Regions from separate parts of the Homo sapiens genome. Here regions 1, 2, 3, 4, 6 and 7 are each linked to region 5. The links are contacts of gene promoters, found by promoter capture Hi-C in blood cells and fetal thymus (Javierre and others, 2016). All regions are on one chromosome and are shown on one strand. Each heading gives the region's core, a stretch centred on a gene start or on the middle of the fragment in contact. The rest is flanking DNA. Distances are from core to core; before and after follow the strand shown. Region 1 overlaps DRD3 (dopamine receptor D3). Region 2 overlaps LSAMP (limbic system associated membrane protein). Region 3 overlaps ZBTB20 (zinc finger and BTB domain containing 20). Region 4 overlaps ZBTB20 (zinc finger and BTB domain containing 20). Region 5 holds the start of ZBTB20 (zinc finger and BTB domain containing 20). Region 6 overlaps LSAMP (limbic system associated membrane protein). Region 7 overlaps ZBTB20 (zinc finger and BTB domain containing 20).

Region 1 (3,552 bases), core at 783-3,282, 990 kb after region 5:
GTGAGCTGACTGGGGTTGGTAGGAAATTCTGTTGTTGTTTTGTTTGTTTTTGTTGAAGGGAGAGATGGAGAGAAGGTGGGAGAGAGAAAGAGAAAGAAAGAGGGGCAGGTGTAGGGATAATTTTTGAGGGGGAGAGAGGAGAGAAGTGGGGGAGAAAGGCAATTTTAGAAAGCATGGCTGTGATCTATATGTTTCTCTCATAGAGCTTAGAGAAGCAAGTATAGTATGTTTTTTAAAATTACATTTTGGTTGCTGGGGTGAATTGCTGTGATTTTGACTCCTCTCTCTGTGTGTTCTGCCTGAGTAACATTGCTTTCTATCCCTGAGAGCACCTGGACTCACCACCCTTGCTCTGGGTCCCTCTGTTTCTCCCTTCCCCTCTCCTTTTGTCTTCCTCTCTTCTTTCCCCTTTCCTCTGCCTGAGCCTGAGATTTGCCTGGCTCCCCTGGGACATCACCAGCCTCACTGAGAGCCCTGGGGGAAAGGAGGTCACTTTCAAGCCTATGGCCCTTGCTGCCAGTCAAAAGCCTCCTCCCATTCCTGCTCTGAGTTCTCTCCCTCCCACTTTCCATTCCGCTTCTTCTCCTTCTCCCAGTAATATCATCCATCCACCTCATAGCTCCAACAGGTGACCCCAAATAAGATCTGCCATTTATTGAGAATTTATCACATTGTGCTAAGCTTTGACACACATTAACTCATTTCATCTTCACAATTCTTAGGTACTGTTATTATCTTATGTATTATCTTAGGTACTGTTATTTTATGGTATAAACATTGGCTACCTTCAAACAGGGACCACTGAATTCAGCTGAATACTCTTTGTTCAAGACTCTGTAATGGGCACAGCAGGGAAGGTCACAGGTGATCAGGAGCTAGGTCTTGTAGAAGAGTTTGGGGTAATGATAATAAAGCAAACCAGCTGCAGTCCTCTATGTCTGCAAATAATGCACTCCTGAAAATGTGTACTAAATGTCTAGAAATTACACAAAAGACTTAGATATTAGAGCTAAAAATATTCTAAAATCCCCAACTCTTCACTTTTTAAAACAGCTTTATGAAGATATAACTCACATACCACACAATTCATCCACTCAAAGTGTGTAATTCAATGTTATATTGGTATGTTTACAGACTTATGCAATTATATTCCTTTTTTTTTTTTTCTTTTTTGCAGAGATGAGGTCCTGCTATGTTGTCCAGGCTGGTCTCAAACTCCTGGACTCAAGCAACCCTCCCATCTTAGCCTCCCAAGTAGCTGGGATTACTGGCACATACTACTGCATCTGGACCCCTCTTTTTTTCTTTTTTCTTTTTTTGAGATGGAGTTTCACTTTTGTTGTCCAGGCTGGAGTGCAATGGCACGATCTTGGCTCACTGTAACCTCCACCTCCCGGGTTCAAGTGATTCTTCTGCCTCAGCCTCCCAAATAGCTGGGATTACAGGCATGAGCCACCACATCTGGCTAATTTTGCATTTTTAGTAGAGATGAGGTTTCTCCATGTTGGTCAGGCTGGTCTCGAACTCCCAACCTCAGGTGATCCACCCGCCTCAAACTCCCAAAGTGCTGGGATTACACGTGTGAGCCACTGTGCCTGGCCTACCCCTCTTTTTTAAACACACTCTTTAATGGTATTATTTTCAGCATTGTGGACATGTTCTTTAGCTTTCTTCTCAGTTGGCTAGCCAACCAAGTGATATAAATAAAAAATCATCCAATTAGCTGATTGGTTTGCAGGATCACCAGAGCAAAGTGTGTTCATATTCATTTTTTTGGTTATTGTTCAAAATTCCCACTTCAGCATGTAAAAGGAAATGTGAGGCTGTTGCTACAGAGGGCACAACACTGGGCCAATTGAGGGGGCCTGTGCTATGACCTCTAGAAAAAGCAGGCTGGAGATGCCACAACATAGTGACAGAGAAAGCATTGTGAAGTTCAAGGGTGACTGAATCAGACTGTGGGAATGTGAAAGGGCTTTATGGAAAAGAGGATCATTGTGATAGACTTTGGAGCATGAGAAGGGTATGGGGCAACCTGGGAAGAGATGAAATTGAAAAGGGGGATTGAGGCCAGGCACGGTGGCTTACTCCTGTAATCCCAGCAATTTGGGAGGCCGAGGCAAGAGGATCGTTTGAGGTCAGGAGTTCGAGACCAGGCTGGCCAATATGATGAAAACCCATCTCTACTAAAAATGCAAAAATTAGCCGGACATGGTGGTGGGTGCCTGTAATTCCAGCTACTCAGGAGGCAGAGGCTGGAGAACCGCTTGAACCCGGGAGGTGGAGTTTGCAGTGAGCTGAGACTGCACCATTGCACTCCAGCCTGGGCAACAGAGCAAGAGTCTGACTCAAAACAACAAGAAAGAAAGAAAAAAAAAGGAGAGAAAGAAAAAAAGAAAGAAAGAAAGAAAGAGAGAGAGAGAGAGAAAGAAAGGAAGAAAGAAAGAAGGAAGGAAGGAAGGAAAGAAGAAAGGAAGAAAGAAAGAAAGAGAAGGAAGGAAGGAAGGAAAGAAGGAAGGAAGAAAAGAGAAGAAAAGAAAGAGAAAGAAAAAGAAAGAAAGGAAGAAAGAAAGAAAAGAAAGAAAGGAAAGAAAGAAAGAAAAAAGAAAGAAAAAGAAAAGAGAAAGAAAGAAAGAAAGAAAGAAAGAAAGAAAGAAAGAAAGAAAGAAAGAAAGAAAAAGAAAGAAAGAAAGAAAGAAAGAAAGACAGGCAAGCCATATTGTGGAAAACATTGAATGCCAGGCAGTGGAGGTAATTCTAACTTTTATTCAATAGGCCAAGGAGGCACTGAGGGATTTTGAGTAAGGCTTTACTTCTAAGGGAATGATTTTGATAGTGCTATGAAGGACCAGTTAGAAAGTGCAGCAGAATTTCAGGTAAGGGATCATAGGATCCTAAAATAAATAGGAGGAAACAAGAAAGGAAAAGTAGGGGAAATTTTGAAAAAAAAAACGGCAAAAGGTCTGTAAACACCAACCTCTTGAATATGAAAGATTAGGAAGAGAAAGGAGTCAAACAGAACACAAGATTCCAGGAGAAAGATGCTGTCAAGAAGAGATCACCATGTCGAGACGATTTGGTGCTTTAATGGTTTGGTTTTTAACATCTGGCATAATAGGAACAAGTGGACTATCCAGGAAGTAATGTGATCTGGAACTCAGGGGAGAAGGCAGGGATGTAGTTGGAGATTTAGGGAGGTTAGCACAAAGTTTAAGATTACTAACTTGGAGTCAAATAGACATGAATTCTAATCCTGGCACCGCCCAGTACTAATGGTGTGGCTTTGGCAAATTCCTTAAATACTCTAAGAAGTTGGAAATTGAAGATAACAACAGTACCTAAGAATTGTGAAGATGAAATGAGTTAATGTGTGTCAAAGCTTAGCACAATGTGATAAATTCTCAATAAATGGCAGATCTTATTTGGGTCACCTGCTGGAGCTATGAGATGGATGGATGATATTATTGGGAGAAGGAGAAGAGGCGGAAGGGGAAGTGGGAGGGAGAGAACTCCAAGGAGGAAAGGGAGGAGGCTTTTGACTTTTGGGAGGAG
Region 2 (3,783 bases), core at 1,032-3,531, 660 kb before region 5:
TTTTTCCCAGTGTTCTAGGTTAATGTTTTATTTGGTTGCCTGCATAATCCCTGTTCTGTTTCACTGATGGTGTTTGCAGCACCACTGTTCATGGTGGTCCACTGTTATCCTATGCCAGGGTGCTAAGAATTGCATGATATTCATCTTCCCTGCTCTATTTAAATTTACATCTATAAGAGTCATCTTGACATTAACACTGAAATGTGATCTAGGTCCTTAACCAAAATTGCTGGGCAACTTGTAATAAATTTAGACAGAAATTTTATGAGTACCACAAAGCTTGGTGTTACCACATCACCAGAAGGATTTCTTAGGAAATGTCTTGCCGAGAGAGCTGGCTCTCTGCATATAGATGTCTTTGTCAGAAAACCAACCCTTGCTCTCACTTACACAGTAGTAAGCACTGAAAGTGGTTCAGTTCATGAGAGGACAGAGAATTATTTTGAGATTATATTTGAATGTAATCTTGCAGAGCCAAATATGGTATGTCATTAAGTTGGAACCTTGTAAATAGCTGTTCCATGTTATAAAATGAGAAACTTTGTAACTGGAAAAAAAGAAAGGAAAGAAGGAAGGAAGGAAGGAAGGAAGGCAGGGAGGGGGGGACGGGGAAGGGGGGGAGGGAGGGAGGGAGGGAGGGAGGGAGGGAGGGAGGGAGGAAGGAAGGAAGGAAGGAAGGAAGGAGAAAGGAAAGGAAGGCAGGAGGGAGAAAGATCTAAGTAGCATTGTTAATTTCTTCAATTTCTTCTAAGGGATTTTATTGTTTGTTTTAGAAGCTTATCACAGCCTTCTTTCATGATTTTGCAGTTTAGACTTGATACAAGGAAAAATTCAGCTTGGGGATGGTTAAGAGTGTTTATAGCAGATTCTGACATAGGAGAGAAAACAAATTCTCATCCAAGAAGGTAGCTAGTAAAATATAGGGAAGGTGAGCCATATTCCTATGCAGCATCAATTTATTGACAATCAGGTATTTCTCTTAACAGTTTGGTCTTCTTAGTTCAAGAATAAAGGGTATCATCTTTAATAATAAGCATTCCCCAAAAATTGAAGAGGCAGTCACACACTTAAGTGTGTGGCTTTAGAAAAGCGCATGCTAATTTAAAGATATACAGGAAGAGAAAAGTAGGAGTTAAGTTGGATGTTGTTAGAAGTTGGATGTTAGTATTACCTTCAGGAACAGATCCCCATGGCATGTCACAGGCCTTAATTATATACCTGGCTTTCTTATTGTCTCCACTTTATCATGAGGACAAGGTCTTGGTTTCATGGGAGGAACTTCTCCATTGAAATAAATGTCTGCCATGTCAGCACCGTTTGTTCCCTCAGTTTTAATATAATGGACCATATATTAAACATAATTAAACATATATTTAAATGTGGTGTTTGCCTGTGTCTCTAGCAGGATCTTGAAATTTTAAAAATTTGCTTCTGGTTCCTGTTTCAGAGAAAACATTGTCCCCAGAAATTTCATAGGATTGAAAGTGTTCCCTAAGCAGTGTGAACAATGGAGGAAAATATAGTTTAGAGAAAAGTCAGGGAAAGGTAGGGCCAGAGGACTGACACCAAGAAATCATTGAATCTCAACATAAGACTTCTTGGAATTTAGTTAATCATATTGGAATAAATTCCTTCAAGAATCTTGTCCCTTGGTAATCAAAGTTTGAAACCCCGCACTGAAAAGCACCAACTGGTTGGAAATAATATACTGAGAGGAGTGAAATTCATCAATTAATCTGAGTGGCTAATATATTTAATATCCTTTGTATACAAAGTAAAACTCCACCATTCGTAAAAGGAAATCCTTAGACCCAACTTTCAGTTAACAAAAACAGAAATGACTTTGACCCAGGGTGCTTCCTGAAGAATGAGAACTATCCAGGGCTTTACAACTGCAGAATTGTAATTATGCTCTGTGCAATTGTTGAGCAAAGGTTTTGCCTTGCTGGATAAAAAGTCTTGTTTGTTTCGAGACATGAAATCCCCATGTCTTAAAAGAACTAAGGCTTATAGAAAAGCAGATGGGTTTTCTCTCAGGAAGGACTGCCCCATTGACCTTTGCCTTCTCTTCCAAGTCAGACAGACTTCTCGCTTGCCATGGGCATTTTTTTACTACATAGTCAGACTACTGGGGCTACTTATAGAGACCTTGTAAAAGTACTCGTGATTTTCACGTTCTTGGAGGACCAAACAAAAATCTGTTTCTCCTCCAAAAATGGACTTACCTCCTTTGCACACAAAAGCTAAACTCCTCAGCATGAAATTGTTTGAGTTATTACTTTACCAAGTTGTGAGCTTCTTGAATCCTCCAGAGTCGCAGATTCCATCCCTGAGTTGGTTGTGGTTTCACTGTTTCTATTGGCTATTCTCCCTGAATTTTTCATTTTGTTCTTTGCAGGGCTCGAATTATTTGTGGAAAACAATAATATATATGTGTGTGTATTTTTTATCTTTATAGATGCTATATTTACAATAATGTATGTATTATAAGACAAATTAAGAATAATGTTTTGATCTTAAAAGGAAGAAAAGTACTGAATTTGGTTGTTTAGAAAGAAAATCTATGCTCACGTAGAAAGACATAGAGCCCCACTTTTTCCGTTTTGTAATTATTTGGCGAAAAGAAATTTGCTTATAGACTATGTTTAATGGGATTAACCATGTCCTCATTTTTCTTTTCATCCTCATACACTTTTAGCCTGCATTTAGTCTTGGTTACCAATATCATTTTTTAAGAGAAATGTAAGTACAGTGCTATATCTTACCTACATAAACTATTAATATTTTGAAGACAAATGTGAAACACACCACAAAAATGGTGAGATAAGAAACAAAAATGCAGTTTAGGAAGCCTCCTCCTTGCTTAAATGTTTAGAATATTTCTTCTCCAAAGACTGCATTTGCCTCAGTGATGTAAATTTTCCATCATGGTTGGCATAATATCTGTAAACATCTCACTAAATGCAAAATGGAGTTTACATTTATGTGCATACTAGCAGAAAAGAAGTAAACTATTCTCATTTGCATGTAGCTATGCTGTTCAAATGTCGCCAACCAAAATTTAGGAAAGAATTTGTTTTCACCCAGCATGTACATCTCACTTTTCTCTTGGCAAGGAAGCTGGTGTTAACGTTGGGTTTAGGTTTAACATTTACACCAGCGAAAATGTTTATGAATATTATGGAAAACTTATTTTAAACCTTGATTTCTTTTGAGCACATTTACATGCTGCGTGCTGATTAATAAATTAGGCACCAATCATGTGTAAATCAATGTAAATCACTAGTTTATGTACATAATATAAACTATGTAAACTTCATTTTTCATGCAGTGCCCAACTACTGCTAAGGTTTACTATGATTCTTAAGGAAAAAAAAATCAAATAAAAATAAATAAAAACTGAAACGTTTCACAGTTCAGAATCGGAAGAATTACGACTAAAGCTCCAAATATGAGGTTGCCTTAGCCAAAGGAAGCAGACCCACAGGAACAGTTCAAGGTTTATATCCTGCTCAAGTCACCTCTTTGGTCTTTCAGGATCTAAGTGGAGATTGTCCCAACTGTTGCTGTAGTTGTCTCACCCGACCCCAAAGCAAGGGAAATAGAGGGAAAGGTTTTAAGGGCTATATGTCTGCTGTATCCACTCCCAGCTATCTTCTTTTTACTCCTTTCTCACCATCTAAGATGTCTTATTTAAATAGCTCCAAGGAAGTGACCTAAACCTTGATGAGCAAAATATTACTCAGTTTTTATTTTCCATTCAACAAAAGCAGTGGGAAAGCT
Region 3 (3,514 bases), core at 332-2,831, 770 kb after region 5:
GTTGGGAAACAGCCCAGTGGTATAAGGGTAAGTAAAGTGATATAAGACAAATAAGGGGGTGAGCCAAAAAGGTTGAGTTGCTAACATTTCCTGTTTATAGAGGTAGCTCCAATGCCTCTGTGCTATCAATATTCTCCCAAAGTGATCACTGAGGCAACAGGAGGGTGTGATACAAGATGTCAGGTAGGAAACAAGAGCGAATCTAGGGAAGGAAACAAGGGCATTGATATGAAGAACAATATAATTTTTGCAGTGTTAAAAATAAAAGAGTAATATATTGGTGGTTTTGCTATGTCCTTATGTTTGAAAGAAAGCTTTCTTAATTTTCTGAAGCACACATCTGAAAGTATCCTAGGCCCTGTCTATGAATATCAAAAATAAACACTTTTTTCTGCTAGGTGACATATGTCATTACTGTTTTGACCCTATATTTAAATGAATCATGAGGGCCAGCCTAGCCTTACTGAGCAAAATAGTCCTGCTCTTATTAAATACCCCTCACAGACTTAAAGCAAAAGCAGCCAGTCAGGTAGTTTTGCTACCTTGCTGCATAAAAAGTAGGAAACTTAATTGGGATTCAGACTATGACCGTTCTTAAAATACACTTTAATTTCAGCTTCATTTCATTCTGTCCACAATCAATTATTGAATGACAGCTTTGTCTAAGCTACATTGCTTAATAGTATAGACAAGGCAGTAAACTCTGGGAGGGAAGGAACCAGTCCTGTTTTATTCTTTAGCCCATGTTGGCACATCATGGGTACATCATAAATATTTGTAAAATGAATATGTAAATGAATGAATGACAGGAGAGAAGGAAGAAGAAAAGAATAGGTGAACACTAGGAATACTAAAATAACTAAGACATTTCCTTACCTTCAGAGAGCTTACAGTCTCACAAGAGGGATATGCACATAAATAGCCATTATTGAAATAAAATTGAGTGAGTGAAATAAGATTAAGAAAAAAAAGAGCTTAGGCATTTCGGAGAAAGACCTAGGGAGGAATTCACTGTGGGGAGTGAAGTCCTACCTGGCAGAGAGGAATCAAGACAGTTATAAGATGAAGACACCATTTAATAAGTATGAAGGATAATAAGTATGATTTCAACAGGGCAGAGATGAAATATGGGATATTCAAAGTAAGAGAAAACTTGAGCAAAGATGTAGAGCCCAGAATGTAGATTCCCAGGATGTTCTGGAGGATATTCAAGAAATCTGAGGGTACAGTATGGCCAATATACAGGACACATGAGAAAAGTTAGAAGAGATACGGAACTGACCTTGAGTGTCAGGCTAATGTAGTCATCTTAGATTTAGTGAATGCAAAGAAACAGGACTAGAGGAGTGAAAGAGGTTGGAGAGCCAGTTAGTAAACAATCAGCTAGATAAAAAGCAGTAGGTGATTGCAGTGAAATTGGAATGGAAACACAGATGTGAGAAAAAATATGAAGGAAGCAGAACTGTAAGAACTTACTGATGAATTGGCTTTAAGGCAGAGGAAGGTGTATAGTGACCCTGAGGTTTCCAACCTGGTGGTAGACAACAGTGATAGAGATATGGACCTTAGAGAAAGCATTGGTTTTAATAAAGGAGTTGGGCTTTAGCAACTTTGATCTTGGCTACATCTTTAAACTGAAAATCAGAATACCAGCTCCTTCAGGGTCCATGTAGACACTCAAGATTTGGGGGTTACTCCCATAGTCACCATTCAAAAATCAATTGATAAGGTCTTATAATTTGTTGCTTCTCTTGTATTGGCTTCCTCCATACTGAAAAAGATGTCTGAAAGCCTCACCTCTATTCTAATCTTTGCCATGCCATCTCTGCCTCCTGCCCTCTGAAGAAACAGATTTTATTTCACAACCTGTTGGACTGAAAACACAGCATACTAATCATAACACCATATTCTGCGAGGGCAGATTTAACTACCCAGCACAACAAATTTAAATACAAAATATTCTGCATAACAAGTACATTACCATGCTCACAGAAACAAGGGAAACATGGAAACAAATCTACTTACAACAAATTCTGTACCACACATAGTCTTCTACAAATAAAATAAATGCTTTTTCTGGTCATGTCCACATAATGATAGAAAAAGACACAAATCCAAGGGAATTGGAGAAATGTTCAGGAACTATTACTAATAAACCAGTTTGGCTGTGGTCTAGGGTCTGTGTAGTATAAGCTAAGTATTTGTTAATTTCATATCAGTTGCATTGTCCTGGGGAGAGGAGACCTGAGCTGACTGATAGCTGTGCTGTTTTACTTCCTATTCCTGACCCCATATAACAATTAGTAACAATTACTTTCTAATTCCCTTCACCCTTCTCTTCCTCATGTCCCAAACACACAATCACACCCTAAACTCCAGGACGATGCACCAAATCAAAAATCTTAGGCGTAGGATGAGTAAAGAGTTGGAGTAGAAAAATCTCTGCATGACACCTTCCCTCTTTAGCTACTAGAATCTAAGCTCTTCTTTTCACTTTTCACTTGCTACTCTAACAGAAACCTCCCATCACTACCCCCTCATCCGTACAGGCTGCAAATTTAAATTGTGATTTGAAATTTTATTTAAAATAAAATCTTAATAAGAGCAGGAAAGTTGAATGTTCCTTAATGTAGTCCATGAGTAGAAATTTAAAGTTGGAAGGAACCTTTAAGGCCTTCTAATCCAAGCCCTTTATTTTACAGATGAGGAAACTGAAGCCCAGAGAGGTGAAGTGAGGTGCCCAAGGCCACACAGCAAGTTAGAGGCACAGCTAGTACGGTAGCTCAAGTCTCCTGACTCCCAGTCCAGTGCTCCTCCCATTACTCCACGAGTCCTGTCTCTAAGCTTCCTGACAAATGCTAGAACGGTAAAACTTCCACTAGTATTTTTCCAGACCATGTTAAAACTCCTAAGGGGGGAAGAGGGATGCTTTCTTGGATAATGTCAGCCATACGTAGCTCAAGCTGTCTAAAGTTCTGGGACAGGGTCTTTTTATGCAGCCAACAGAGTCCAAATGTGGTGCTGTTTGCTTGGCCCATATGCTTTCATGTGTTCCCAGTTAGGCCATTACTGGAGGGAAAAAAAACAAGAATCAGCTTGTTTTAAAACAAGGGACATACTGGACTCCCTCCCATCCCCCTTCAGAAAAAAAAAATCAAGTTATCTTTAACAGATTCTAAAAATGCCTTTTCCCAAATATGCAGTCAGTTCCTTCAAAGGGCCCTTTGTTTATTTTCAGGAAGAAACCCAAGACAGCTGAAAACCAGAAGGCATCTGAGGAGAATGAGATTACTCAGCCGGGTGGATCCAGCGCCAAGCCGGGCCTTCCCTGCCTGAACTTTGAAGCTGTTTTGTCTCCAGACCCAGCCCTCATCCACTCAACACATTCACTGACAAACTCTCACGCTCACACCGGGTCATCTGATTGTGAGTACACCACTAAGGTGATGGTGTCTTTGCAGTGCTTGGAGTAGTGCTTCTACCCTGGGTTCTGGCTTTTCTACTTTCAGAGCGA
Region 4 (3,557 bases), core at 609-3,108, 740 kb after region 5:
AAAATTGTATACATATATAAAAGCATTCAGCATTTCTGAGTTTCATTCCATCTTTTACTCTCAAGATATATCATGGCCCATCCCTTAAACCCAGCCAGGTGTTGTCAGAGTTTGTGAAGCTGTTGATGATAAGACCGTCAGACTGAGAGGGATCCTCTAACTGAGAGATTTGGAGGAAGTGAAACTCAAATTGTATACACATTCCTATGTCTTCGCCATTTAGCTATGCCCCATGTTCTCTCTACTAAAATGTAGACATTTTAGCTTCATAATTAATGCAATTAAACTTTATGACACTGTATGTTGCTATATCCAATGACTAAACTTCTTTTAAGAAACAGAGGATCTCTTCTCCTTTATTGGAAAAAAAAAGTCAGACTGTTTTAACACAATTCCTCCCGTACATGGCTACAACTTTTCTCTTACATACCACAGCTTCTATATTGGGCTTGTTCTTAAAGCTAGGATTTTTTTTTTCCTCCTATGAGGACACTGCAACCCTTGAAAGTTTTTCTCTGGTATTCTCTGAGTGCTTCCTAGATACCTGGTTTCAGTGACTCCAGTTATCACAAGGACTAATTTTCACTTGCTATCCATGAAAATTTTCGCTGGGTCAAACTAAGTTGGGTCAAACTAAGCTGCTTCTTGGAAATGGGGCTTATGCTAGTCGTGAGTTGTGTCCAGAGGGAATTCTGAGCAGTAAAAGGAGGCAAACTGAGGGCATTCTAGGTGAAGGGAATTAAACCAGCAGAGAATCAGGGCACAGATGGAAAAGAGCGAGTCATGGGTAACCAGAGTGCCTAGTCAGGATATGATATAAGCTCCGGGTATTGGGTTTTCTGTGTAGCTCCTTTGTTTATGTAAAGCTAGCTCGGCAGGCTCTGGGCCTTCTTGGCTTTGAGGATGCACTGACCTGAGAGCTATGGGGAAAAATAGCCACGTCTGTACACCAGACTATAAAGCCAATATGTACCATTCTCTTTGAAAATGAAAGACAATAACATATGAAACTATTATTGATATAAGCTTTTATTTAGTCTTTTCTAAGATACCAGGGTATTTTTATGACCTGTTTTCTTCCCCTCGGCGTTAGGATGTTTTCTTATACTGCTTCAACTGAAGTAAATTATTCAAACAGAGCTGTTTTGTTTTATTTGTTTGTTTTTGTTTTTGCAGCTTTATGCTTACCAGGGACTTCATAAACAAGTTGAAAGAGAAAAAATAGCCAAGACATAAATATAGAAATAACCCAATCACATAAGCTTTCATGAGCATGGGTGAGGGCCTTGTGGGAAGGATGAGGAAAAATCTTTATTAGTACCAGAATGATCGTGATTACCTTAGGCATAAGTCTGATTTGAGAAGAGACACTGATATACAAAGAAAGGAAGGATTATTCCCCTATGATTTGTCCATGTGTACAAGGAAAAATAGCTTCAGTATTTACTATTTGACTTCTTGAGTCCAGAAACCTAATACTCACTGCAAACTGCATAGGCACGGAGCAGGAGAAAGCAAGTATTTACCAAAACAAGAGGAAAGAGGAATTACTCTTTCATCTCTTCTTACTTTAGAATCATCAAATGTTATTACTGGAAAGAATCTTAAAAACCATCTAATCTAACACTCCCACATTATATATGAGAAAAATGAGACTCGAGAGAAGTTTCATGACTTGCCCAAGGTCACACAACAGATTACAAACGTGGCTGGGGACCCACATATGATAAATAGGTGCCCTTCATTTCTTCAGTTTCTCCATAATCATTTTAGAGAATTATTTGACTTATCCCACCAATGTTGTTTTGTATATCTGGATTATCATCTGGCTTCTCAGTTAATTTTTTTGAAGTGAAGTTTGCTTTATAATAACTGCCAGATTCTATAGCTGATTCTAAAAATTAAAATGTGTTCTCAGACATATCCTGAGTGTTGTACAAATATGGAGACGCTCACTAGATCAACATGTATGCCTCCTTATTTTATATGAATCCTATAATACCTATAAACGTGGCCTGATCATATTAGACTCTTGAAGTTTCTAGAGTTCCAGATATTTGTTGGAGCATATAAATAGGTGAGAGCAGATTTACGCATTTACCCACTCTGAGTCCCTGAGACGTTCCTGAACTGCTGTGCCTTTGTAAGTCAGTTATTCCCACTGCTATCGATATCACCAGTTCCAATTATTACCAATATGGCCCATTACTACAGACTGATTTCTTACTAGGTTCAAAACCAGCTGTACTTGGTGTTTTACTGATATTTTGTTCAGTGTTAGAGGAGAAAGAACATGGTGAGAGTCTGGCATAGCCCAGCTCCCTTCTGTGAAGAAAGAGTCCATCACTGACAATAGACATTCAATAAGTGGTTATTTAAAGAGGTCGAAAAAAGCATCCACCATTTCTCTATTTCAAAATAATCAATCATTTAAAAATATTAACTACAAGCTTCTGATGCAATGTTGTGTGGTTTGTTGTGCCACATATGGTTATGATGATCTACACGTCAGCTACAATCCAGAAATACTCTCATTGTTACAATGCAAAATAATATAATCATCCACTTTTACATTTTAAATGTGTCTGGCCCACCAAGTCCTTGCTTAGGTGCCAGACACACCACTGTGAAGGAACTGTCTGACATAGTATCCTGAAATTTCGGGTAAGTATAATCATCTCCCAGATGCATAGAATAAGCCTGGTTTTTGAGGCAAAGAGAAGAGGCAAACCTCCTGCCCTTCCAGAAGTCAGAACCATTCAGCAATATATTCACAGTAGCTAGGGGGGAAAGCCTTTGTGAAGAAAACTGTTGTGTCTCATGGCTGTTTTTATTAAAACATTTAGTCCACCAGCTTTCCAACTCTACGAACAATTTAATTCACAAAGCACATGAAATAAGCAGAAGAATCTAGTCCCAACAGCCATGTTCCACCTCTGTGATCCTCGTCGTGAGTTAGGATGATTTAGTCGTCAAGATCCCTGCTGTTCTGTGCTTGGATATTTGTGAGGAAAACCTAGAATTCATCCCCTTTAGAAGCCATGTCCATATGGCATGCAGCAAAGACCATTAGAGAACAGTAGTAGGAGTTTTGTTATCAAATCCAGCCAGATTTGCAGATAGGAATACTGAGAAATTAGTATTTTTCCTTCCTCTTCTTCTCTCTTTTCCTTTTTAGCCTTTTTCTTTCTCCTGTTTGCTTCTTCAATTCAATACTCCTTTGTTTATGGATTTGGAGAGTACTCCAAAAGCAAATAAGCCAATCAAATCCTGTTTGGAGGGAGAACAGCCATTTTGACATATAACCATCTCATCACTCCTTTTTATATGCCTAAACAATTGAAGAGCATGTAGCATAGCCAGGTGCTGGTCCTCAAAGTGGGTGTGCCCTAAAACATTCTTTGGTTTGAACTAGTCTAGTCCACTGTTTCATGTTACTGAACAATCAAAAGAGAAAAGAAAGTTTTTCTTCTCTGGTTCTAGACCAAATGACTGGCAGGATGTGATTGCCATCTGTAATTTTCTGCGAAGTCCTTCCCCAGTCCAATTTACATGAT
Region 5 (3,485 bases), core at 702-3,201:
TGCACCCAGTCAATATCACTTTTTAGCTAAGATTTATATATAAGTTTAAAAGTGTTTTGGCTTCCAAACTCACTAGCAATTCCCAGACTTCAAAATTGACACCACACACAGTAATTTTCTGGATTCTCAAAGCCTCATACATATAATCCTCACAAGATAGCTTTAATAGTATTAATGAGGTCAAGGCCCTTACTTTTTTTTTTTTCACCAGGGCCAATTTATTTTGCTTAGTTTCTGTCAAAGACCTCTAACCAGGCATCTTATGTGAAAGCATGCTGTACGTTCCAAAGAAGCCTGGGTTAAAATCCAGATGACTTAAGTCTATTGGAAATTATACATCAAATCCATGTCCTAGAAACAATGTCATTTTCAAATCCCAAGTACAGTGTATTCTTTGCATGCATGGTATTTTTGATAAAGTCTCTTATTTTGTGACAAAATATTGCTATATCAGCTGCCTAAAAAAGTGCAACTTAGTTTGGCAGTAATTATTTTTTTTTCTTTGTATAGTGAAAAGCGATTTCCCCAACCCTCCCATCTTGGCCCTTGTAAGAAATCCTTTTTAGGAATCTATCCTGGGCTTCCTGCTGGACTTCAGCCTCATTTTTTTCTCCAATGCCTGAGTACTGGACCAATATTTGGTAAGAATTTGGCTCTGGGGAGTGCTATGTTGAATGACAAATGGTTGAGGACGAAGATTTTATTGAAGCATTTGAACCACACTTAATTTTCCGTGTTGCTTTATTTGTTCCTTTTACCACCCAGGATATTGAATTCTGTGGGCTCTGGTTGAGTCGTTGGTACTTCAGGCGTTCAGTAATAAGAAACATAATCTGCTTTTTCCGGCAGGATAATAAATCTCATTTATATTAAGGGAGGCTTACTCCAAACTCTTTTACATAGTATTTTTCTAAATCTTCTGCATGAACAAATTCTTCCTTGAGCCCTAGCACTGGGGACCCGGTCTGGCAACCTGCGCCCCATTCCGCGGGAATCAAGCGTGACCCGGTGCGGCCTTGCGCGCTGCCGCCAGCCAGACCCTCCCTCCGGCTTTCCCACCCACCGCCCGGGATCCAGCCTCCATCCCGCTGCCTCAGCTGTCCAAGACAGCGACACCCCCCTCTCCGCTCCCGCGGCTCCCCCGGCGCAGCTCGCCGCGCCAGACAGCGGGTAACCGCCGCCTCCGCTGGGGCATCCCGGCTCCACAGGCCCAGCGCGCTCCAGACACCTGCCTCTCACTGGCCACCGCCGCTGCCCCTCACCCCGCAGCCCTCTCGGCAATTGGCCCCAGGCCGCCGCTCGTCATCCTCAGCCTTCTCCTAGAGTACCGCCTCCGTCGCCGGGTCATTTAAGTTTATCACAAATAAATAAATAAAGGAGGAAATAGAAATGCGTAGAAAGTAAAAGCAGTAGGGGGTGGGGGAGATGGGGCGTGGAGGAAAAGGAGGGAGGAGCGGAGGAGTAAGCAACCTAACCTGATTGCGCCTGTGTCGACCAATCATGGCTCACTCCAGTCCGGTCTGACGGGCTCCCTGAACCAATAGCCTTCCACCTCCCGGATCACTGAACAACGAGATACGATTGACCTTTTCAGAAAGGGTGAAGGTGCGGCGGGGGGAGGGGGTTGTGGGGGTGGGCGAAGTGGAAGGATTGTCCACCAATCGCCTGTTAATACTTCTCTGAGCGAAGTTTCCGCGTCCCAATGGATGTTTGAGATAGCGGATTGGGCCTCTTTTAGCCCAATCGAAGGTGACAGAGATGAGGGAAGAGGAAGAAAGGGGCGGGGACGGGGGGGCGGAGGGGAGAAGGAAGAGTGCATTTTGTTTATGGGCGGCAACCTCACGAGGGGCGTCCCATTCTCATTGGCTCACTGAAGCCAAGATTGGCGTGAGAGCTATCCTATAGCGGGGAGAGATAGAGGGTTCGCGGAGTGAAGCGTCCAATGTGGGCCTTCTGCCGAAGAAGTAGGGGCGGGGGGAAGTTTAGGAGTTGAGGAAAGAAGATTAAAGAGCGCGAGGAGGTAATGCCACAAACTCTAATTTGTTGTGGGACGGGCGGGAGAGAGGGAGGAGTGTGTGCGTGCCGAGGGGGATGAGGCGTCTGCGAGGCGCCTGGAGTGGGGGGCGGCGGGACTGGGAAGGAGGGGAGCGGGGTGGGGTTGGGGGAGCGAGTTACAGAGCGGCGAGCCAGCGGGCCCTGAGCTGGATGAGCGCGCGCGCCCCCGCGCCCCGCCCCGCCCCGCCCCGCCCGCGCCCCCTCCCCCGGCGCCCTTCTTAGCGCCCGGCGGCTGCCTCGCCCGACCCGGCGGGGAGGTGGGAGGGAGGCGCGGGAGGGTCGAAGGGTGGCGGGGCGGGCGGGACGTCCCGCAGCTGGAAACGTGTCTTCTGCCTTCTTCTCTCTACTCCCTGCGCCTGGAGCCGCTGCTTCCAAGAAGAGGAGCTGAGGGGGACTAGCCGGGGCTCAGGAGCTGCTAGAGGCGCCCGCTTGTCTTCTGCCCCCTCCCTCCTCGCCCTCCCCCGCTTGCCGTGGCTCTCGCGGTCTCTGGAGCGTCTTCAGAGAACTGGGGGGCAGGAGGTGTCCTGGCCCCACAGCCGCTGGATGTCTCTCCAGACGCCGGAGCTCCCGGCCCCCGCCTGCTTCGCTTCTACGACTAGAGAGGAGGGGGCTTGGGAAGGGAAGACACACCTTTCCTTCTTTCTCTTCTTTGGGCCACTTCGGAAACATTAAAACATGTTAACACTTTTTGATTCCTGATATAAAAATGGTTGGAAGGTTCTTGAAAGTTTAAAACAAATGCCGTCTCTCGTACACTGTTTAATGTATTCCTGTCTGTGTGGCTTTTGGGTCCTCCCCCCACCCCCCGCCCCCAGCTGTTATCCTTTTTAAGGATGCTGAAGAGGCAGGAGGCAGGGATTTTCTAAAAGTTCTATTGATAAACACACTTGCACAAACATATGCTAGGCACACACACAAACTAAACATTAGCGAAAAACACAATATGGCGTACAGCTACGGTACCTAGCGCGGTAATCCGCTGATCTCTCACTCCGAACTGGGTTGAATGAGGTCAGTAGCAGGATGACAGCTCTCCAATGAAAATCTGAATGAATCAGGAAGTAGTTTGGAAGCTTGCGGGTGTAGTACTGTCCTCAGAATCAGCATTGGCCAAACCTAAGTTGAACATGTTACCTTTCTAGACATGTGAAAATCTTCTCCACTGTTTTTTCTATTAAAAATACCAAAAGGGTGCTAAAGTCAAGTTTCCTCACTGCGTGGCGGTGTATACATTTCAGCTAAAAAAATTATAGAGGCCATTCACCCAATGTTTTCAAGTGAACGCTATTCTGAAGTTACTGTTGTAACTTGTTGCCATTGAAAGTTTTAAAACACAATTACCATTTTATAAATAAATAGCTGTAGACACTAAATTTAAGTGATAACCAGTCATCTTTAAATTTATAATGGTTTGTTTTCATTTCTGTTCA
Region 6 (3,738 bases), core at 806-3,305, 680 kb before region 5:
ACCTACATTTCAACCTACCCCTTATTGCACCCAGGCACATATACAAATCTATAGTATATTAATAATCACCCTTGTGTATACATTCATGTTCATTAGATATGCATCTTTTCAATGGATTTTAAATGTTCATCTAATTTGTTTTATGTATTGCAATGCTTATAACACTCAGTTACTTTAACGTCTGTACATTTTTACAAAATCTATTTTCAAATATGCTTAGCACAGTGAGATGTATGCCCAACTCACACAGATTTATATGAAAGCATTCATTTTTTAAAAACTTGAGCAGAGCTATCTGGCATCGGTACATCTAATTTCACACACTTATTCAGGCTGATTTACATATACACCTCTATTAATCATGGATAATTACTTGCATTGTTCCTGTAATTCAGTTTTTCCAACTGTGAAATGGGAAAGAAATTATATTTTTCATGCCTACAAGCTCAAAGTGGTATTTTAAATAATATACAAAAGAGAGCTTCAAGTTCCTAGAAGGCATATTGAATTTAAAATAATCATATTCAGATACACATGTGTCTTATAATTTTTAAAAGCACTGATATTTGCAGGTATACTGGTATCATGTTGCATGGACATCAGCTAGATATAAGTTCAATGTATTCTTATTATATTTTGATGTATTATGGATTCTAAAGATTTCTGAAATCCCCACACTGCTGAAGTTTTAATGTAGAAGCATCCTAAGGCCAAATAAAAAATATTTTTCATTATTTTCTTACCAATATCATAATATTACATTTAAGAAGAGCTGCAAAATTGCACACAGTTCCTGGTTGTGTGGCACACACATATACACTCACACACTTTCAGCGGATGCCCTTCATACACAGTACCACATGACTGCCAACCCATCAGCCTAAAGGACCTGCCCTTTTTGCTGGTCAAGGGTATAAAGTATGTCCTAGGAAAGATTTCCCTTTTTAAATATGTCTCTCCTTCCCACTGGTTAGCAGAAACAAGGACTTTGTTACTACAAATAGAATTTAGGCAGACATGTCAGCACCAATTTACAACAAAATGATTGGCTCTGATTAATACACATGAAAATTATTGAGTTGACCTTCATACCTAATTCCCTGGCTCGTTTATGGGAACAATAGTCTGATTTCCTTCTGATTTTCTTTAGTGGTTAGAGACTCAAGCGGGATAATTGTACCAATATTTCATGTGGAATCAATGGTTCACTCATCAATCCAATGATTTTGACACAGTGTAATAGGGAGGTTTTCTCCCCATTTCTGTGTCTTATCTCCCCCACCTCTTTACTCTTCCTTCTACTCTGTTTCCTAAACTGTTGTTCTCTCCCCTGCTAAAAGTTGCTAGCAAGAATAAATCCAAAATTTATTCACACCATTATTTAAATGTTCAACAAGGGCTTGGAAGTGTTATTTCTCTCAAAATTTACATTTAGCTTCAAGCTAAATGACTAAAAATCCTACAGAGTCAATTTAAAGATAGGAGAATGTTTAGTCCTTTCTAGTGCCTAGAACTCCTTTCTAATGCCTCTTCCTGGTTTTCGAATCTGGATCTGCCTGCACCAGTCAGCCTTTCCTGGTGAGCTCCCTGTCCTTAATGCCTTGCTGTGCTATTTAGATGTCTAGAGCCAGCAGGGATTTGAAAATGAATATTTTTTTTAACAAAAATCCAAGCTTCCACTAAATTTTAATTTGATAGAAATATTGCTCTTCTATGAGCTTTATAGAAAAAAAAATTTTCAAAGTAACAGTTACATTTGGGGATTAGGTTTAAGTAATTGGCAGTCTTGTCTTTTTAATTAAAAGGAATAAAGCTGCCTAAGAGGAGCTCAATGAAATTTTGCAGCAGAAAATGTTGGCATGCTGCCCCAAAGGGTGAGAAGACCAGGATCTTGATGGACAGAAAACTGACACAGGCTCCTCTGGTCTTTAGAGTGCACGGCAGCACTGCTTGCTCTCGAGTCTGCCTCATGTGCCAGTTAACATGGGCATAGCAGTCGACTGTGAGAAACATTGTTGTGTTTAGACAGGAAGGAAGTCCTTCCTTTGGGAACTTAGTTCTGGGTTCAGAGACTGTATGGAGTGAGAGTCCTTTTTAAAAAGTGGTAGTACATAGAGGAAACAAATAAACAAACAAACAAAAAACAACAGCAAAAAAAACTCTCCCAAGTATTAAATCATCGAGATAGTACCAGCCCCTGACAAATGTCTTATGATAACCCAAAAAGTATGAACCTTAATTTTAACCTGTTCCTTGGCTCCTTTCTCTACATTTTCCACCATATTTACCAGGCATTACGTATGCATGTTCTCTTTGACATCTTTCAGACAAAACCAAAGAAAAGGTTTTGATAGTATTGACATTCACTTCTAAACACTGGTTACTAGCCATGCAAGCACCACCAAGCCCTTATCCCACCTATCTGGAGAAAGCTTTGACTTCTGAAGAGGCAAGATACAAATTAAGCTTAGTTAACAATTTCCCTTATACAGTCATTGCAGCCTCATGATATTCTTTCATCATCACAAGTTATTTGTAGGTATTAAACTAAAAAAGCACCTTGATGGGGAAAAAATCAGTATGAGAGATCCCACCTTACACCTCCCCTTGTATACTGCTGTGAAGAAACACACCTGCCAAGTAAGAACACAGCATGGCATAATGAGTTTGGAATTCCAATTTAAGGTGTTCCTATGTACTGAGATGTATGATGGGAGTAGGCAGACTACTCACTAGGACTCCACGGAGAATGTCAGCTTATATCCACCACAGATCAGTGGGGAAGAGACCTTACAAGTCATTTATCATGCTTCCTAATTGGACCCTGGGGAGCCAAGCACTGCCATAGTTTACTCTATAGTTTCGCTTATCACTGTGCTGATTGTAAAAGAAAATGCTTCCCACATCTCTGTAACACATACCTATGATTAGCACCCAGACATTACCACTGACATAGTCTCTTTACTATCAATCACAGCTAATAGTTCATTCTACTTTTTATCTGCCCCATACTCGCAATAAAGATTCTGACTTAAGCACCCACCTTCTAAACCTCGGAATCTCAGTATGACCTTTTTAACTGCCTAAAAAGCCTAAAAAGACATTTGGAGGCAATAGTAGCATCCTGTAGAAAAAAAAAAAAAAAAGCAGTAGAAAATAACCGTGCCTTGGCCAAGTGTCCATTCTGTTTACCATCCCATGCTCCTTAGCTCACACAGCAGCAAGCATTCCCAGCCATGTTTTATGTTGGAAACTTGCTTGGCCATCCTACAGTGGTTTTTCAACTATACGTGTGGGTTTTGTATGAGTTGGAAGCTGGGGATATTTGGAGAGCAGAAATAGCTAGAAACAAAACAAAGCAAACAAAATGAAACCAAGCAGTAACTTGCACTTCTCTGTTGAATTGCAAGCTAGAGTAACTTGGGAAATTTGTTTTATTTTTCTCCCTTGAAGTTCCAGAACACAGGTAAGTTTATCGCTGACAGCTGTTAAGTGCAGCAGTGCTTAAAAAAAAAAAAAAAAAAAAGACGGAATGATCCCATTAATTGGAGGCTGGTCTTCCGTTGGGAGATCAACCTTCCCATTCTAACTCGTAAATAGTATGATTTTTTTTCTGTATTTAGATGTACTCTCCACTTGCTCTTGCCTTTGCTTTGTAGAGTTTCTTTTAGAGGTCACGTTTTCTTTTCATTATGATTTCTAATCATTAGGAACACAAGAAAGAGGTTACATTCTTGA
Region 7 (3,833 bases), core at 1,144-3,643, 650 kb after region 5:
ATATTCTCAGAATTACATAGCAGATTATAATTCAGTCAAGAAGTAGGTGTCTTTTGATGCCTATGAACATTTATGAATTGTGTAAGAACTCTGAGATTAAATTTTTAGCCATACTATTAAGTTTGGGATCATATTATCATTTTATATTAACATATAAGTACAACAATTATATCCAATAAAACTTCCATCTAACTTGGCTTTAATTTGTTTTAGACTGTGACATACACACTGTAATTTTTCTCTCCATTTTGGATTCCTATCATTGACAGCCATCCTGTGTGTCATTTGACATCCAGGAAAGATAGTTTTTCATTCCAGACATTGGATGTGTTAGTCAATTTGGGTACAACTTACATTGATCTCTTTTGATCACATCAAAAATTTAATTTTAACTAATTTTATGAATAAATGCACCTTGAAATTTAGAAAAGAAAGTTATGTGTTTAGATATAAGAACATAAACACTAGGTATAATTTTAGAAGAGCATAATATTGTTGAGAGTTATTGGGTTTATAACATGCAACAGAAAAATGATCATTGAACATATTTCATAGAAAATTGCTAATAATATTTTCTTCTTCTCCCCAAGGTTAGAGAAGACAGCAAGTTCAAAAAAGGAGAGGGAAAGAAAGAAAGAGAAATAGAGAGAGAGGAATGTAAGAAAGGAGGGAGGGAGGGAGGGAAGGAAGAAAGGAGAGAGGGAGGGAGGAAAATGGTAAGAAAATATGCCCCTGTGCCATAGTCTAATATCCTGGCTTGCAGAGAAGACTAGAATATAGCAAAACTTAGAGCTTTAAAATCTTTGAAGACTAGTCAGTGTTATATATATATTTCAAATTTGTATGTGCTTTCAATGAATCATACATAATCTAATTCTCTTGCCTAAAATTTTCATTAAACTCATGAATTTTGTGAAACAATTTGAAAGCATTGGAGATCTCCAGCCTCTCTTGTATTAGCATTATAATAATCCAGGCTGGAGATTTTCATCTTAACTCGTCTTGTCACCATCCTGCATCAAGTACACCTGCATGTACTTGAGCAAGGTTTCACATTGACCACAAAGGGAAATCATTTCTTTGAAGAAATCTCTACAATAGTGCAGTTGTCCCAGAAACTTTCCAGGAAGGGTGATGTCTTTAATTGCTGGTTTTCTGCTTTAGCCTTTTCAATGCAAAGATACTTAATCAGGTCCTTCTACTTGATCTCCTTTAGTGAAGTTTGTTTTGCATATTTCTGGAGGCCTTATGTGAAGTTGTTAAAATCATGGTGTCAGAGAGGCAAGATTGAATCACCCTGTATTAAATTCTTGATATATTTAAGTGGGCTAGAGGTAGGGGGACCTGCTTTGTTTTCTCAGTATCTTTTTTTGGTTTATTAATTTGTCATGGCTCTCCTCCTACTTCAGTTTTATCCTTCTAAGAGAAGCTATCAAAACACTGATGGGTCTGGGCACGGTGGCTCACACTTGTAATTCCAGCACTTTGGGAGGCCAAGGTGGGTGGATCACCTGAGTTCAGGAGTTTGAGACCAGCCTGGCCAATATGGCAAACCCCATTTCTACTAAAACTACAAAAATTAGCTGGGTGTGGTGGTGCGTGCCTGTAGTCCCAGCTACTCAGGAGGCTGAAGCAGGAGAATCGCTTAAACTCAGGAGGCAGAGGTTGCAGTGAGCCAAGATCGTGCCACTGCACTCCAGCCTGGGTGACAGAGGGAGAGTTCATCTCAAAAAAAAAAAAAAAAGAAAGAAAAAAAAACAAAGCACAATGATGGGCAGACCAGTCCTATAATAGTTTTTTTTTTTTTTGGCCTGTGATTTTTTTTTTTTTGACGGAGTTTTGCTCTTGTCACCCAGGCTGGAGTGCAGTGGCGTGATGTGGGCTCACTGCAACCTCCGCCTCCCAGGTTCAAGCAATTCTCCTGCCTCGGCCTCCCAAGTAGCTGGGATTACAGGCGCCCGCCACCATGCCTGGCTAATTTTTGTAGTTTTAGTAGAAACAGGGTTCCACCATTTTGGCCAGGCTGGTCTCGAACTCCTGACCTCAAGTGATCCACCCACCTTGGCCTCCCAAAGTGCTGGGATTTACAGGCGTGAGCCACCGCGCCTAGCCTGGCTTGTAATTTAAAGAGTGAAATATCAGATTTTAAACATAGAACAAGAACACTGTTAGGGTCAGCTTCTCCAAAATCTAAAATTTTCATCATTTCATCTGAAATTTTCATCACCAAACAGAGTTGTGTTTGGTGGGAGAGAAGCTTTGTTTAAAATCACTTTATCAGATTATTTTCCACCATAGAGGGGACATTCTAGGCTGGTGAGAAGGGGTAGAGGCAGTTTTAGAAGGCAAGTCCGGGGCAAACTTAGGACTGAGTTCTTAGCTACACACGAATGTATTGAATTTGTTCAGAGGAACTTCTGGACATTAAACATACTAAATATACCTTAAAAGAGACAAAGTTTATCAGGGTTTGACTCATCTTTGTCAAAATTAGCTAAAATTGGTCATGTACTGTATAGTAAAGCTTTTACCTATTCTAGTCAGTGCTGCCCAATAGAAGTTTCTACAATAATAGAAACATTTTCTATCTGTGCTATCCAGTAAGGCAGTCACCAGCCACATGTGGGTATTGAGCACTTGAAATGAAGCTGGCAAGACTGAGGAACTAAATGTTTAGCTTTTTATTAAATGTTAAATAATTTAAATTTAAATAGACAAATGTGGCTAGTGGCTATTTTGTTAAATGGTAACATAGCTCTACCAAATCCTATATGATACAGATTAGAATGAAATGAACAAAGAAAGGTCTTTGCACTCCTTGTGCTGGGAAGTACTGTCTTGGTCATCATAGCAGGGGGTCATACCTTTAGAAAGTTTTTATGAAGCTGGGTCTCCTTTATTTTGAGGCTAGAAGTGACAAAATAGGCTCCTTTAGGAACAACCAGTCCCATCTATGCCTAGATTTGCTTTCTTTCTTCCCACTGTATCATTTTGCTTTTATATATTGGTTTTGCATCATATATCGGTTTGCTTTTAATTCCTTATTTTTTCTTTGATTTTCAGATCTTTGACCATCAGTCTGTGACCTGCCCCTTCTCTTTACGTAAGTAAAAGTGATTTCTTTACCTTTAAAAAAAAAAGTGTCAGATTTAGGAAATTGTGGTTTTCACTGGCATATTTCCTAGTTGACTTTGTTGTGGTTTCTAGTGCTTCTGTAGTGTGTATTAGTTTCTTTTGCGTTTGGAGTGTATGCTGTTGGTGGTAATACTAAGTTGCTATCCATGAGGGTGCAGAAAATACCAGTGGCCCAGATACTGTACTTCTATAAAGGCTGCCCTTTACTTGGCTGCAGCTGCTGTTTGCAAAAGTCACTGCTCTTTTAAAGTATAGCTTACATTATTCAGCCAAATACCAGCAACAGTTGGGCTTTTGCTCCCCTGTCAATCATTGGGCAATTATGTATTCTTCAGTTATGTACCCATCCCTAGGTCCAATAGTTTTTAATTTTAACTTCTAGATCAGAGCTTTCATTTATTGACAAAATTTCTAATATCCCTTTACTAAGAAGTACAAGACTGTAAAATAAATAGACTAAACTTTTGTGCAAAATTATGAAGTCTACAGGGGAAAAAAAGAAATCCCAGATTCACGTGTGCCAGAAGGTTTATAAAGGTACCACTCTTTTTTAGAAAAGATGGAAAGGTATTCGGGGGGAAAAAAAAACACGATTTTATATGAAAAAAAAGAGAACGTTCATTATTTAAAATTCAAACCAGGCTGCACTGAATGGGTTTAAATAAATTTTATTTTGAACTGCTTGAAAAAGATTCTAG

The links. The method cuts DNA at HindIII sites, captures the fragments that hold promoters and counts their contacts. A CHiCAGO score of 5 or more calls a contact.
Region 1: a contact is called between a fragment that was not itself captured here and the fragment with the promoter of ZBTB20 in region 5, in 1 of 17 cell types (naive CD8 T cells). The highest score is 6.4, in naive CD8 T cells.
Region 2: a fragment that was not itself captured here is called in contact with the fragment with the promoter of ZBTB20 in region 5 in 7 of 17 cell types (naive CD8 T cells, activated CD4 T cells, M2 macrophages and 4 more); the score reaches 7.9 in naive CD8 T cells.
Region 3: a fragment that was not itself captured here is called in contact with the fragment with the promoter of ZBTB20 in region 5 in 3 of 17 cell types (M2 macrophages, M0 macrophages and naive CD8 T cells); the score reaches 10.7 in M2 macrophages.
Region 4: a fragment that was not itself captured here is called in contact with the fragment with the promoter of ZBTB20 in region 5 in 1 of 17 cell types (M2 macrophages); the score reaches 5.5 in M2 macrophages.
Region 6: a fragment that was not itself captured here is called in contact with the fragment with the promoter of ZBTB20 in region 5 in 1 of 17 cell types (fetal thymus); the score reaches 5.4 in fetal thymus.
Region 7: a contact is called between a fragment that was not itself captured here and the fragment with the promoter of ZBTB20 in region 5, in 1 of 17 cell types (M2 macrophages). The highest score is 6.4, in M2 macrophages.

The regions. Positions count from the first base shown.
Region 1 is chr3:114,155,870-114,159,421 of GRCh38, reverse strand. The region is part of intron 3 of DRD3 (dopamine receptor D3); the gene reads left to right. Among named protein-coding and RNA genes, the nearest start is that of DRD3, 21 kb to the left of the region's middle. The HindIII fragment of the contact is 2,698 bases long and covers 684-3,381 here.
Region 2 is chr3:115,804,985-115,808,767 of GRCh38, reverse strand. LSAMP (limbic system associated membrane protein) reads left to right here. Exons shown (of 7, transcript NM_002338.5): 7 at 1-3,783. All of the region lies in intron 1 of LOC124906269 (a long non-coding RNA gene), which reads right to left. Among named protein-coding and RNA genes, the nearest start is that of SNORD155, 98 kb to the left of the region's middle. The HindIII fragment of the contact is 3,005 bases long and covers 779-3,783 here.
Region 3 is chr3:114,380,129-114,383,642 of GRCh38, reverse strand. ZBTB20 (zinc finger and BTB domain containing 20) reads left to right here. Exons shown (of 12, transcript NM_001348800.3): 9 at 2,703-2,866; 10 at 3,239-3,426. The coding sequence starts at 2,856. The region is part of intron 7 of ZBTB20-AS1 (ZBTB20 antisense RNA 1); the gene reads right to left. Among named protein-coding and RNA genes, the nearest start is that of ZBTB20-AS1, 30 kb to the right of the region's middle. The HindIII fragment of the contact is 2,530 bases long and covers 317-2,846 here.
Region 4 is chr3:114,402,009-114,405,565 of GRCh38, reverse strand. The region is part of intron 7 of ZBTB20 (zinc finger and BTB domain containing 20); the gene reads left to right. Among named protein-coding and RNA genes, the nearest start is that of ZBTB20-AS5, 50 kb to the left of the region's middle. The HindIII fragment of the contact is 1,188 bases long and covers 1,265-2,452 here.
Region 5 is chr3:115,145,754-115,149,238 of GRCh38, reverse strand. It overlaps ZBTB20 (zinc finger and BTB domain containing 20), which reads left to right and starts at 1,951. Exons shown (of 12, transcript NM_001348800.3): 1 at 1,951-2,020. RefSeq lists silencers at 956-1,175, 1,736-1,905, 2,216-2,485 and enhancers at 1,226-1,435, 3,166-3,275. The HindIII fragment of the contact is 9,545 bases long and covers 1-3,130 here.
Region 6 is chr3:115,826,745-115,830,482 of GRCh38, reverse strand. All of the region lies in intron 6 of LSAMP (limbic system associated membrane protein), which reads left to right. All of the region lies in intron 1 of LOC124906269 (a long non-coding RNA gene), which reads right to left. Among named protein-coding and RNA genes, the nearest start is that of SNORD155, 77 kb to the left of the region's middle. The HindIII fragment of the contact is 759 bases long and covers 1,676-2,434 here.
Region 7 is chr3:114,499,622-114,503,454 of GRCh38, reverse strand. It overlaps ZBTB20 (zinc finger and BTB domain containing 20), which reads left to right. Exons shown (of 12, transcript NM_001348800.3): 7 at 3,064-3,103. All of the region lies in intron 1 of ZBTB20-AS5 (ZBTB20 antisense RNA 5), which reads right to left. Among named protein-coding and RNA genes, the nearest start is that of ZBTB20-AS5, 48 kb to the right of the region's middle. The HindIII fragment of the contact is 267 bases long and covers 2,260-2,526 here.